2 separate regions of the Homo sapiens genome follow, and region 2 is linked to region 1. Evidence: promoter capture Hi-C in human tissues and cell types (Jung and others, 2019). All regions are on one chromosome and are shown on one strand. The core of a region is centred on a gene start or on the middle of the fragment in contact, and the rest is flanking DNA. Distances in the headings are between cores, read along the strand shown. Region 1 holds the start of TUBB2B (tubulin beta 2B class IIb). Region 2 has its middle 16 kb from the start of TUBB2A.

What was found. Contacts are between HindIII fragments. The study calls those that stand out against the background at their distance.
Region 2: a fragment that was not itself captured here is called in contact with the fragment with the promoter of TUBB2B in region 1 in 3 of the 25 tissues and cell types used here (H1 embryonic stem cells, mesenchymal stem cells and stomach).

Annotation. Positions count from the first base shown.
Region 1 is chr6:3,226,207-3,233,006 of GRCh38, reverse strand. TUBB2B (tubulin beta 2B class IIb) reads left to right here and starts at 5,354. Exons shown (of 4, transcript NM_178012.5): 1 at 5,354-5,520; 2 at 6,338-6,446; 3 at 6,738-6,800. The coding sequence starts at 5,464. It overlaps LOC100422781 (a long non-coding RNA gene), which reads right to left and starts at 1,604. Exons shown (of 2, transcript NR_147505.1): 1 at 845-1,604. RefSeq lists enhancers at 425-1,207, 3,200-3,756, 5,052-5,710, 5,711-6,371 and a silencer at 5,158-5,447. The HindIII fragment of the contact is 16,967 bases long and covers 1-6,800 here.
Region 2 is chr6:3,170,407-3,176,973 of GRCh38, reverse strand. No RefSeq gene overlaps it. Among named protein-coding and RNA genes, the nearest start is that of TUBB2A, 16 kb to the right of the region's middle. The HindIII fragment of the contact is 5,079 bases long and covers 1,819-6,567 here.

The DNA.
Region 1 (6,800 bases), core at 4,105-6,604:
AAAAAAAAACAGATATTGGCAAGGCTGCAGAGAAAAAGGAATGCTTATTTGCTGTTGGTGCGAATGTAAATTAGTTCGGCCACTGTGGAAAGCAGTTTGGAGATTTCTCAAAGAACTAAAAATAGAACTACCATTCAACCCAGCAGTCCCATTACTGGGTATATACCCCCCGCCCCAAAAAAATCATTCTACCAAAAAGACACATGAGCTCCTGTGTTCCTCATAGCACTATTCACAATAGCAAAGACATGGAATCAACCTAGGTGCCCATCAATGGTGGAATGGATTAAGAAAATGTGGTACACACACACCACAGAATACTACACAGCCCTTAAAAAAAAGAAAACAAAATCACGTCCTTGGCAGCAACATGGATGCAGCTGAAGGTCATTATCCTAAGCGAAATAATACAGAAACAGAAAACTAAATACTGCATGTTCTCACTTATAAGTGGGAGCTAAATATTGGGTGCACACGGACAAAAAGATGGGAACAATAGACGCTGAGGACTCCAAAAGGAGAGAAGGAAGGAGCAGAGCAAGGGCTGAAAAACTCCCTATTGGGTACTACGTTCACTATCTGGGTAACCAGGTCGATAGAAGCCCGGACGCTCAGCATCATGCAATATACCCTCGTAATAAACCCGCACATGGACTCCCTGAATCTAAAATTAAAATAGAAATTTTAAAAAAGAAGCAGGCTGGGCATGTGAAGCCCAAAGAACTCCGTTTGGAAACTGCACTGCTGTCTCTGCAGTGTGGCCACAGTGACTGCCCGCCCACCAAGCATCTAGAGCCCAGAGGCAGGGGTGTTGCTGCATGGATGTGTCCACCTGGATACGCACGTTTTCATTTCATTTAAATGGCAAACAAAGGTCTTGGGCAGATTTCGAAAAGCACTGGTGAGCTGCGGAGACATTTCCGAGCAGGAGCTGATGTGGAGGGTTTTCAGCGCCGGGTGAGGGTCCCGCAGCCACAGCGATGTTCTAGCCTCCGCCGCGGAACTCACAGAGGTTCCCCCGCCATAGCCTCCCGCGTGCGCTCCTGCGCTTCCACCAGACCTTATTTATAAGTCTGTTGATTTCGCAGGCCGCACCTTGCAAGGGGCACACGGTCCGTCTTATTATTTCATAATCACTTCTTCTCTTTTTGTTTTCCACCCGGCCTGGCTCTGTGTCTAGGACTCAGCGTGCATTCCCTGGGCTCGGCCTGCCCCGCCTGCCTAAGAATCCCACAAATCATTGACAGCGTGGGGGAGGGGAGATTGCCTGTAGCAGGGAAATGGCGCCCTAGAAAAGCCAGGATGCTACTCCCTCCGCCGATTTGTAGGACAAAGCAGGCAAAGCTCTCTCGTGGAAGCTCGGCTCTCTCAGTCCCGACCGAGGCCATTATAACTCAAATTCACAACCTCCGGGGATGCGAAAACACCCGGCCTTACTGAGGAACAAAGGGCAAGTGTTCCCGCACTGCGCTGCGTTCGTGGGCTCGGGGTTTTCGCTGCTGGTTCCAGCTTTTGGTTGCCCTGCTTGGCTGGTCCCTGCGGGGCCCACGGCTGCGGAAGGACAGGGCTCTGAGGCTGCCACCCCGCAGCCCCTGCGACTAAACAGTGCCGGGCAGCTCCGCCGGGGCCGCTGGCTTCCCAGGCGGAGGAGGGAAGGCCTGGGGGGAAGGGGGAGGGCAATGGAATAGAAACTGGGGAGCGACAAAGCTGAGAAGGCGCAGATCTTGGCGGATCCCGGGAGCTTCCTCCACTGTGTCCTTTCCGCAGTCACAGTATGGGGCTGCGACCGCTTCCTAGCCCCCATGCCCCGGGCATTTGGCTCTTTTACATAAATGCTAGGATTGGTAGCTTTCCAATATTTCTAAATGGAGAGCTATGAGAAGAGGTGATGTGTGTGTGTGTGTGTGTGTGTGTGTGTGTGCGTGTGTGTGTGTAAGGAAATAATGATGGATTTGCAGTCTCTTTCTTTCAACTCCTCTTCATTCATTGGCTAAGTGTCGGTTGCCTAGGAAACCGCGTGCATCTCGGCTGCAGAGCCAGCTATGGGGGCTGCGGGCTGGGTTTTTGGGGTTTTAAGCGGTGAATCCTGGCAAGCAGTGAAGAACCCTAATGCTAAATGTCTAGTAATTTCAATAAATGTGTCAAAAATATATGCTACATTATGAAAACAGTGCTTTAAAAATTTACTACTATATAAAGCCTCTTTTCTATCAGACTTCTTCAAACAATGACTGTGTGTGTAATAGAGAAATGCAAATTCACTTGAGGACATGCCGTTGAAAGTAATCTGAAAATTGTGAAAGCAAATATAATTTTAATAGTTTAAGGGATATCTTGCTCACCTCAGTCACGCAATAGATTACGTATAAAACAAATGTTGAATTGTATTTTATGCAGCAATATTTCTACAATTGTCTCTGGAAGGGAAAATTTTTAAATGTTAGTACATCATCAAGACTAACATTAAGAGATCATGAAATATGTTGCCCCGAAATCTTCGTGCCTGATATACGATGACCTAGATTGAGACGCATTGCATATAATGAATAGACAGAAATGCTGGGGACCCAACTGAAAACGACTTTTTTTTTCTTTGAAAGCCGGGTACCAGTCTCTTTATGCGAGCTACATGGATTAAGAATGATTTTTTTGTTTAAGGGTTATCAGATAAACTGAAAGACTTCAGGGAAAGGTGTGGCTGTTGTCAACATTTTAACACAAAATCGGCTCCTTGTGAAAATAAAAATGTGCAGCATCACAATTCCAGTGGGGGTGGGGGTGGGGGTGCGATGTAGACCGGTTAACAAGACTGGCTGCCCGGAAGGGGCAGGGGTGTGGGGACAATTCGAGCAAAATGCTTGAAAGGAAAGCAGATCTTGGGCCAAAAGTGTCCCCAAGGGCACTCTGGGCTTTCAGAAGGATGATTTCCAGCCTCATCCTATCCCAAACCAACCCCTTTAAAAGAAACCTGAGAGGAAAGGGTCTTTTCATCTATCTATATGATCTTGAACACGCGTTTTCACCCGGGCACTGAATGGAGATTTGGCTCGGAAACAGAAGCTGAGAAATGAATTGGTTAGATGAAGGAGGCAGGCGGCCAGCTCAAGTTACTCAGCATGGAGCTGAGCGGCCCCCAACCCCACCCCCCAGCGCTGAGCATCAGGGTTGCTCCTGGGAGCTCGCAGCGAGGGGGTGACCGCTCCGAGTGTGTCTACACTCGCCGCGCGGGTGCCGCCCTAGCTCTGTTCCTTCCGGCGCAGCTTGGTCCCACCAGAGCCGCCACCTCGAGGCTGACACCTGCCACAGCCCTTTTGGCCGAGATGCGGTCACTTTCCCTGAGGTCTGGTGTGCCCAAAAGACGAGATTCCAGTCCGAGCCCTGTCCTCAACTTGCTGTATGACCTTGGGAATTGCTAGCCCTCGACGTTTCGGCATCTGCAGGATCTGGATTAGAAACTCGGAGGTCAGGCCCCGAGACCTTGGTACCGGGAGAGCAGGGCATGTGGACAGACCCTCCGCTGCTCTCTGCCTCTCGGTAGACCCCACCCTCACCCGGGCACGCCGGCCGGGTCTGGAATACCGGCCGGCGAGCTCCAGTCTGGGCGCCCTGGATGTTTGGGGGCGCCTGGGCTTTTGTTCTCGCTACTTCTCTTTGTACATTGGAATCGACTTGAACCCCCCACCCTCCACCCCACAGCGGGAAAGGGAGGCGATGACAGCTTGCTGATAGTTCTGGGAGGGTCTCGCTCAACAGCTGCAGGCTGAGCTCCGCCGCGTGCGCCCGGGTCATTCGGCCTTTCTCGCCAGGGGATGAAAGAGGTCACGTCACCTCGCCAACGGCCCTTCCGAAGTGTGGGGCGGCGCGCTTCAGTCATCGAATTGCAGGGAACAGGTTGTGCAGTGAACGTTTCTGACACCCTTTCCCCTCCCGCCCTCAAACGCACGCAGGATTAGTCTCTCTCTCTCTCTCTTTCTCTCTCTCTCTCACACACACACACACACACGCGCGCGCGAAAAGTAACAAAGAGACCAGTTCCTGCCTCAGTACCTAGAGACTGCGGATCTGAAGGGAGGGTCTGTGCTCCAAGTCTGTGCACGCGCTCGTGCGAGTGCGCGTGGGTCTTGGGTCGTCTCGCGCGCGCTGGGCTGCAGTTTTTAGTCGTATTCCCCACCCTTCAACCGCAGCACGAAGCCTCGGACCTCCAGGTCGCCGCGATGGAAGATAAGAAAGTTTGTTACTCGGGCTTGGGCCACCCTTGGAACCCACCCTCTTACTTGACAATAGATGAACTGAATCCGAGGGCGGGGTGGGGGGGTGGGGCGCCTGTCGTGTGGTTTTAAATACTGGGTTACACAGCGTATCCCACGTTTCTGAGAGCCCTTTGTTCCGCCGACAGCCCCGCCCCCGGGACCCCACCCTCTTTCTGCCCTCCGGACGGTCAGTGCAGCGCCACCGGCCACTCCCACTCCATCACTAGCGAGCAACAAAAGTCAACCCCCGGGGCAGAGGGCTCCTGGGTACCAGCAGGGGCGTTATGCACTCCCGGAGAGGGTCGGGCAGGGCTGAGGGGCTCCGAGGTCGCTTCACCCCTAGATGCTGCGGCGCAGTGAGAGGAGCTACCAGCCCAAGACAGACAAAGGAGAAAGCAGGCCCACGCTGGGGCGGGGGCGGAGGCCGCGCTGGTGTTCATGGGCCGCAGGTGTCCCGGTTGCCATCAAGCACGACTTCCTTCTGGGGCCACCTGTCCTCCCCCAGGCCTCTGTGAGACGGAGCGCCGCCTGGGCAGTCGCTGGCCTCCAGGGTTGAGGAAAAAGACGGTGGTCTCACCAGGGGCAGTTGGCTGGAGGGACTCTGGCCAGTGGCCGAGTAGGAGCCGCAGTCCGAGGTGGCGGAGCAGCCTGTGCCACCTCAGCCCTCCCACCTGCCGGCACTGGAGCACCTGACGGCTTCTCCACATGCTCCAGTCCTCCATCGTTCCCATCCGGTGCCAGCTCTGCCCCCACCCCGGTCAGGACGCGCTGGTGGCCCTCGCCTCGCCGCCCTCTCACCCTCCTTTTCTTCACTGTTCCCCCATATCCCCATACCCAGACCCCCACCACAGCCCCAGACAATGCGCACGCCCCCACCATACTCCCGGTAGCCCCCACCCCTCTCCCGGTCGGCACGCCCGCTCTGATTGGCCGCGGGCCGGTGGTCCAGCCCCCCGGACGGTCCCTAGGGCTCGGAGCATTACGTCAGCCGGGCCTGGAGAGCGCCAGCGCGAAGGGGACTGGGGGGCTCGGGCTGGGGGCGCGGCCTGTGCCGGCCGCCCCACCCTCCTTGCATAAAAGCCGGAGCCCGCGGGGCCGGCGCTCTCAGCCCGTCGGTTCCCGAGCGCCTTCCCGGTGACCCCGCAGTGGGTGTGTGAGGGGAGGACGGACAGACCCAGACGCCGCCGGACCAGGAGGACGCTGACGAGGCACCATGCGTGAGATCGTGCACATCCAGGCGGGCCAGTGCGGCAACCAGATCGGCGCCAAGGTGGGCGCGCCGCAGCGGAGGGGGTCCAATGGGGGCGCGAACCTGGGCCGAGAGCCCCTCGGGGTCCCCAGGCGCGGTCCTGGGAAGGCCTGGGGATCGCCAAATGCAGACCTTCCTGGCCGCTTTGTGCCGCCGAGTGTGGCCTGGGCTAGGAGGTGACTTTCGCGGACGGAGGGGGCACCTCTCTTTCTTTCTGCTGTAACTCATTTGGAGTCCCCGTCACCCCCTCGGCCTCCCTCCGCGCTGGCTGCTTGGCAGGCACGCGTGCCTGGAGAAGACGAGGGTGTGTCCGCGAGGCTGTGCGCGGCGCTCCGCGCGAGGGGCTGGGACACCAGGAGGATTAATTGTACTCGCTTGAACCGGAGTCGAGCTGCCGGGGGAGGGGAGGAGAGCGATTGTCTTGCGGTCTCAGGACGTGCTTTGAATCTAAAACCGCGGTCCTTTAGCTCCTTTGCGTTCCTCTTTCCCCGCCCACCCGCTCCTGGCGGGCTGCAGTCCCTGTGCCCTCGCCTCCTGCCGCAGCCTGGGGCTGCGACCAGTGCGCCAAGCTCCGCCACTGCCCGGCTTTGGCTGGTCCTTACCCCCTCGACCCCTACCTCCCCCCGCGAGCGGCAGCTGTTTGCCTGGGAAACGCCCAGTTTCAACTTTCTGAACCTGCAAAATACAAGCCCCGCGGCTGTGCCCGGGTCACGACGCCCTTTAAAGCTTCAAGCTCCTGAAATGTTGGGTTGTCGGAACTGAGTCGGGGACATTTCATTGTGAGCCTTGGCGTTTCTGGGGGCATCGTTCATGGCTAAATGCAGCCTTTCTGTCTCAGTTTTGGGAGGTCATCAGTGATGAGCATGGGATTGACCCCACTGGCAGTTACCATGGAGACAGTGATTTGCAGCTGGAGAGAATCAATGTTTACTACAATGAAGCCACTGGTAATCACCCTTGCCCCACCCCCACTCCCTTCAGTTTTTCCACCTTCTCCCCTTTCCCTTGCGTGGGACCCCAGGGGTGTGGCCCTGGGAGAGGGTGGACTATTCAGTTTAGGATCCCCGCTCTTTCCCTGCAGTATTTCATTGGGCTTCCTTATGCCAACAGAGCCCTTTGAGAACCTGATGGTGGGTCTCCCTTTGTTTGGGGCAACATCTGCATGATGGCAGCAGGCGCCAAGCCCTTCTCTGCAGAGGTCCTTGCCTGAGGGTCTAAGTCACTGTTGTTCCTTGCAGGTAACAAATATGTTCCTCGGGCCATCCTCGTGGATCTGGAGCCAGGCACGATGGATTCGGTTA
Region 2 (6,567 bases), core at 3,109-5,608, 55 kb after region 1:
CTGCACAAAGAACCAGGACAGCTTCCTGTGAGTCACCAGTGTGATGAGGCTCTCCAGCGGTGACGTAATCAGACCTGCATCATCCCAGCCTTCAGACAAGAACAACTAAATGAGTGAGAGCATCTCTGGCCTTTGCATTCAGCTCTGAGTCCAGTGCCTCTCTAGATTACAAAGTATTTAAAATCCTGCTTCATGGTGGGTCCAGAGAGGGACTAGAAATGCTTAGCTAGTGAGGAGAGCACTGCTGCAGCATGAAAATGACAGGAATCTGAATGGCAGCTGCAGAAGACAGACGGGTCAGCTAAGGGGACACAGCAGGTCCAATGGCTGAAGGCCACTGTCAGTGGATACAAGGACTTTCCCATCAAAATTCTTTGTAGCAGACACTGTTGGACCCACCCTGTGCCTTTGGCCATTGTTTTTCTCAGACCTGCTGATGGCTTCTTACTGAAAAAAACTGTGACCTGCCCCAGGGGTCACTTGTGCAGCAAGGTAAACCTCTTTCTGGAGGCTAAGTAGCCAGCTCCCCTCCACTCAGGTGGGGCGACGCAGAGTGAAGTTCTGCCTGGTCTCTGACAGATGCCCCTGGGTTGAACCCTTGCCACCTGCAGCAGTGACCTGTTCTGAGGCAGCCCCTTGGCTTCCTTCTCTTTCCTGGCTCTGTTCCCCACAGCACTTCCAACGCTTCCCAGGACAGACACTGCCCTCATCACCTTCCACTCAGATCCTAGCCTCAAGGCGTGCTTTGGGGCACCTGACCTACATCACTCATCAAAGAAGAACTCGTCTACCAGTTTGCTATTTTAACAGGTTACCACAAAGTCAGCAGCTTAACGCACCAGGATCACCTTACAGTTTCCGTTGCTTGGGAGTCCAGCAGGTCTGGGAGGGCTGCACTCATCAGGAGCTCAGGGGCCTCTCCCATGCTTGCTCACGTGCTCAGCAGGGGCCAGGTCCTCACGGTCATAGGCCGAGGTTCCCGTTTTCTTGCTGGCCTTTGAGCAGAGGCTGCTTCCTGCTCCTGGGGGCTGCCTTCTGTTCCCTGCCACATGGCCCTCTCCATAGCAGGCTATCGGATCCTTCAAGGTCATCAGGAGGGGGTCTCTACTGCTTCCAAACTCGAATATCCTGTCTGTCAATGGGTGGAGAAATCTTCTTCTTCAAAAGGGCTCATGTGATTAGGGGAGGCCAATGAGATCATCTCTCTATCTTAAGGTCAACTGACTTGGAAACTTAATTGCACCTGCAAAATCCTGTCACAGCAGTACCTAGATTTATGCTTGATTGAACAACCGGGAAAAGGTGAGTGTTGTAAAACAAAAATAAAATTCTAAGGCCCCCCCAACCATCTGAATGGAACCCTCCTCTCAGCCAAGGTCATTCAAAGTTAACCTGAAAAACTCATTCAGGCAATGATGGGAAGTGGGAGCTGGACATGTCTCTGCATTCCCTCCTCCCGTTTGGAAATGCTGATAGAACAGACTCTTAAAGTCTGATGAGAAACGTTTACAATCTATTCTCTCTGAAGCCTGCTACCTGAAGGCTTCATCTGCATGACAAAACCTTGGTCTCCACAATCCCTTATCATAACCCAGGCATTCTATTGATAACTCTTTCTACATATTGTCAGTCAGAAAACCTTTGAATCTATCTATGACTTGGAAGCCCCCCTCCTTCCAGTTGTCCTACCCTTCCAGACCAAACCAATGTATATCTTATATGTATTGATCGACGCCTTCTGTGTCCCTAAAATGTATAAAAGCAAACTGGACCCTGACCACCTTGGGCCCATGTTCTCAAGACCTCCTGAGGACGGTATCATGGGCCATTAGTCACTCATATTTGGCTCAGAATAAACCTCTTCGAATATTTTACAGAGTTTGACTCATTTTGCCAACAGTATATACCACGAGCCAGGTGAATCTTGGGCCACCTTAGAGTCCTGCCTACCCCAGAGTGGAAACAGCACAGCCTCTGGAACAGATGAACCTGTGTTCCTAAAGTAAGTTATTTTTTTTCCTTCCTAGTTGTATGGCCTTGGGCAAGGATTTTAATCTCTCTGAGCCATACCTTCTTTGTCCAAAAAATGGTGATCATGGTAGCCACTTCAGAAGGCAATTATTATGAGGATTAAATGAAATGCACATGTAAATTACTTGTCACATATGTGTGCAATCACTGGCTCTGTAGGAGCACCTTGTCAAGGGAGGTGTTCAGGGATAGGCTGTATAACTTCCCATCAGGGATTCTGCATAGAGAAGCCATGATAATCTTGGACTATCTTTTAATTTTTTTTTTTTTTTTTTTTTCCGAGACTGAGTCTCGATCTGTCGCCCAGGCTGGAATGCAGTGGCGCGATCTTGGCTCACAGCAAGCTCCGCCTCCCAGGTTCACGCCATTCTCCTGACTCAGCCTCCTGAGTAGCTGGGACTACAGACACCCGCCACCACACCTGGCTAATTTTTTGTATTTTTAGTGGAGATGGGGTTTCACTGTGTTAGCCAGGATGGTCTCGATCTTCTGACCTCATGATCCACCCGCCTCGGCCTTCCAAAGTGCTGGCATTACAGGCATGAGCCACCACACCCAGCTGGAATATCTTTTAATTTTTAAATATACAACCTTTAGGTTCTTTACAACCAGGAAAAGTCTGTGGCTCCACGTAAACATTCTTGAAAGAGCTTTTCATCAGAAAAAGGCCTTCATTGATTGGTATTAAATTATTTCCTTGGGGCTAGGTGCAGTGGCTCACACCTGTAATCCCAGCACTTTGGGAGACTGAGGCAGGAGGATCACTTGAGCCCAGGAGTTCAAAGTTGCAGTAATCCATGATCATGCCACCACACTCCTTCCTGGATAACAGAGCAGGGCACTGTCTCTTAAAAAAAAAAAAAAAAAAAAATTATAAGCTGGGCGCAGTGGCTCACACCTGTAATCCCAGCACTTTGGAAGGCTGAGGTGGGCGGATCATCTGAGGTCAGGAGTTCAAGACCAGCCTGGCCAATATGGTGAAACTCCATCTCTACGAAAAATACAAAATTAGCCAGGCATGGTGGTGCATGCCTGTAATCCCGGCTACTTGGGAGGCTGGGGCAGGAGAATCGCTTGAACCCAGTTTCACTCGCGTCCGTGTGAAGAGACCACCAAACAGGCTTTGTGTGAGCAACAAGGTTGTTTATTTCATCTGGGTGCAGGCGGGCTGAGTCCGAAAAGTGAGTCAGCAAAGGGAGATAGGGGTGGGGCCGTTTTATAGGATTTGGGTAGGTAAAGGAAAATTATAGTCAAAGGGTGTTGTTCTCTGGTGGGCAGGAGTGGGGGTCACAAGGTGCTCAGTGGGGGAGCTTTTGAGCCAGGATGAGCCAGGAGAAGGAATTTCACAAGATAATGTCATGAGTTAAGGCAGGAACAGGCCATTTTCACTTCTTTTGTGGTGGAATGTCATCAGTTAAGGCAGGAACCGGCCATCTGGATGTGTATGTGCAGGTCACAGAATATATGATGGCTTAGCTTGGGCTCAGAGGCCTGACATTCCTGTCTTCTTATATTAATAAGAAAAATAAAATGAAATAGTGGCAAAGTGTTGGGGTGGTGAAAATTTTTGGGGGTGGTATGGAGAGATAATGGGCGATGTTTCTCAGGGCTGGGATTAGGGGTGGCGTGGGAACCTAGCATGGGAGAGATTAAGCTGAAGGAAGATTTTGTGGTAAGGGGTGATATTGTGTGGTTGTTAGAAGAAACATTTGTCGTATAGAATTATTGGTGATGGCCTGGATACGGTTTTATATGAATTGAAAAAAGAACGGAATAAGAAGGAGAAAAACAGGTATTAAAGGACTAAGAATTGGGAGGACCCTGGACATCCAATTAGAGAGTGCCTAAGGAGGTTCAGCATAGTCCTGCCAGCAAAGATTATTTATTTACTTTAACAGGGAGTTAAGAGTGGCAGTTTCGGGATAGCACCAGGAGATATCAGCTGTGATGGCTTGGAGAAACAGTGAAAAAGGGCAGTGTAAACAAGAGCAGAGCATTTATGAGTAGTTGAGAACGGTGAATAGGAGTATGACTAGACAGAAGATAGTAGGGATGACAAGTTTTTTGGGGTGCAGTCCAAGTTGGTCTGGTGTCTGGAATGAGACTGGGGCCTAATAAAAAGGAGCGTCTATACAGGAGCTTAAATGTGCTGTACCCTGTAGCATTCCGAGGACAGGTCTGACTTCTGAGAAGGGAAAGTGGTGAAAGTATTGTCCAGTCCTTTTTAAGTTGGTGGCTGAGCTTGGTGAGTTCTGTTTTTAAAAGACCATTAGTCTGTTCTACCTTTCCTGAAGATTGAGGACGGTGACGGATACGAAGGTTTCACTGAATACTAAGAGCCTGAAAACCTGCTTGGGTGATTTGACTAATAAAGGCTGGTCCGTTATCAGACTGTATAGAGGTGGGAAGGCCAAACCGAGGAATTATGTCTGACAGAAGGGAAGAAATGACCGCGGTGGCCTTCTCAGACCCTGTGGGAAAGGCTTCTACCCATCCAGTGAAAGTGTCTACCCAGACCAAGAGGTATTTTAGTTTTCTGACTCAGGGTATGTGAGTAAAGTCAATTTGCCAGTCCTGGGCAGGGGCAAATCCCCGAGCTTGATGTGTAGGGAAGGGAGGGGGCCTGAACAATCCCTGAGTAGAATAGCAGATAGAACACTGAGAAGTTATTTCCTTGAGGATAGATTTCCATGATGGAAAGGAAACGAGAGGTTCTGAGAGACGGGCTAGCGGCTTGTAACCTACATGGAAGGTTATGAAATGATGACAGAATAGAATGGGCCTGTAAGGCTGGAAGGAGATATTTTCCTTGGCCTAAGAACCATTTGCCTTGTGTGGGAAGAGATTGATATGGTGGAAGTTTCAGCGGGGGAGTAAGTGGGAGTGACCAACGTGTAGGGGGAAAAACTGGCCATGACAGACAGAAGTTGGAATGCTAGCTGCTTGTCTAGCCACCTCATCAGCATAAGCGTTGCCTAGAGCAATAGGATCTATGTGTCTGGAATTGGTGGATTCTTGGTCTCACTGACTTCAAGAATGAAGCCACAGACCCTCGAAGTGAGTGGTACAGCTCTTAAGGTGGTGCATCCAGAGTTTGTTTCTGCTGTTACGGATGTGTTCGTCGTCTCACTAGCTCAGGAGTGAAGCTGCAGACCTTCACAGTGAGTGTTAAGAACTCTTTAAGGCAGCGCATCCAGAGTTGTTTGTTCCTCCCAGGGGGCTCATGGTCTACGCTGGCTTAAGTGAAGCTACAAACCTTCATGGTGTTACAGCTCAATAAAAACAGTGTGGACCCAAAGAGCGAAAAAATAAAGCTTCCACGGCGTGGAAGAGAACTGTCGTGGGTTACCACTGCTGGCTCAGGCAGCCTGCTTTTATTCTCTTATCTGGCCCCACCCACATCCTGCTGATTGGTAGAGCCTAGTGGTCTGTTTTGACAGGGTGCTGATTGGTGCGTTTACAATCCCTGAGCTAGACAAAGGTTCTCCACGTCCCCACCAGATTAACTAGATACAGAGTGTCGACACAAAGGTTCTCCAAGGCCCCACCAGAGTAGCTAGATACAGTGTTGATTGGTGCATTCACAAACCGTGAGCTAGACACAGGGTGCTGATTGGTGTGTTTACAAACCTTGGGCTAGATACAGAGTGCCGATTGGTGTATTTGCAATCCCTGGGCTAGACATAAAGGTTCTCCACGTCCCCACCAGACTCAGGAGCCTAGCTGGCTTCACCCAGTGGATCCTGTACCGGGGCTGCAGGTAGAGCTGCCTGCCAGTCCCACGCCCTGCGCCCGCACTCCTCAGCCCTTGGGTGGTTGATGGGACTGGGTGCTGTGGAGCAGGGGGCGGCGCTCATCGGGGAGGCTGGGGCCGCGCAGGAGCCCATGGAGAGGGTGGGAGGCTCAGGCATGGTGGGCTGCAGGTACAGCCCTGCCCCGCGGGGAGGTAGCTAAGGCCCGGTGAGAAATCGAGCATAGCGCCGGTGGGTTGGCACTGCTGGGGGACCCAGTACACCCTCTGCAGCCGCTGGCCCTGGTGCTAAGCCCCTCATTGCCTGGGGCCGGCAGGGCCGGCTGGCTGCTCCGAGTGCGGGGCCCACCAAGCCCACGCCCACCTGGAACTCTAGCTGGCCCGCAAGCGCCGCCTACAGCCCCGGTTCCCGCTCGCGCCTCTCACTCCACACCTCCCCGCAAGCTGACAGAGCCAGCTCTGGCCTTGGCCAGCCCACAAAGGGGCTCCCACAGTGCAGCGGCGGGCTGAAGGGCTCCTCAAGTGCCGCCAAAGTGGGAGCCCAGGCAGAGGAGGCGCCCAGAGCGAGCGAGGGCTGTAAGGACTGCCAGCACGCTGTCACCTCTCAATCGGACGCCTTTTGATGCCCCTTGCAGTGAATGACTCCAGCTTCCTTTGGAAGTAAAGCGGCCATGAGCAGAGTTTTTATTAAAGAGGCATTAATGATGCAGGACCTTGCGTAGTGAGAAAACCTCTTTCAGCCCATATAACTGCATGGTGGTGCAGAATATGGAAGGCATATTTAG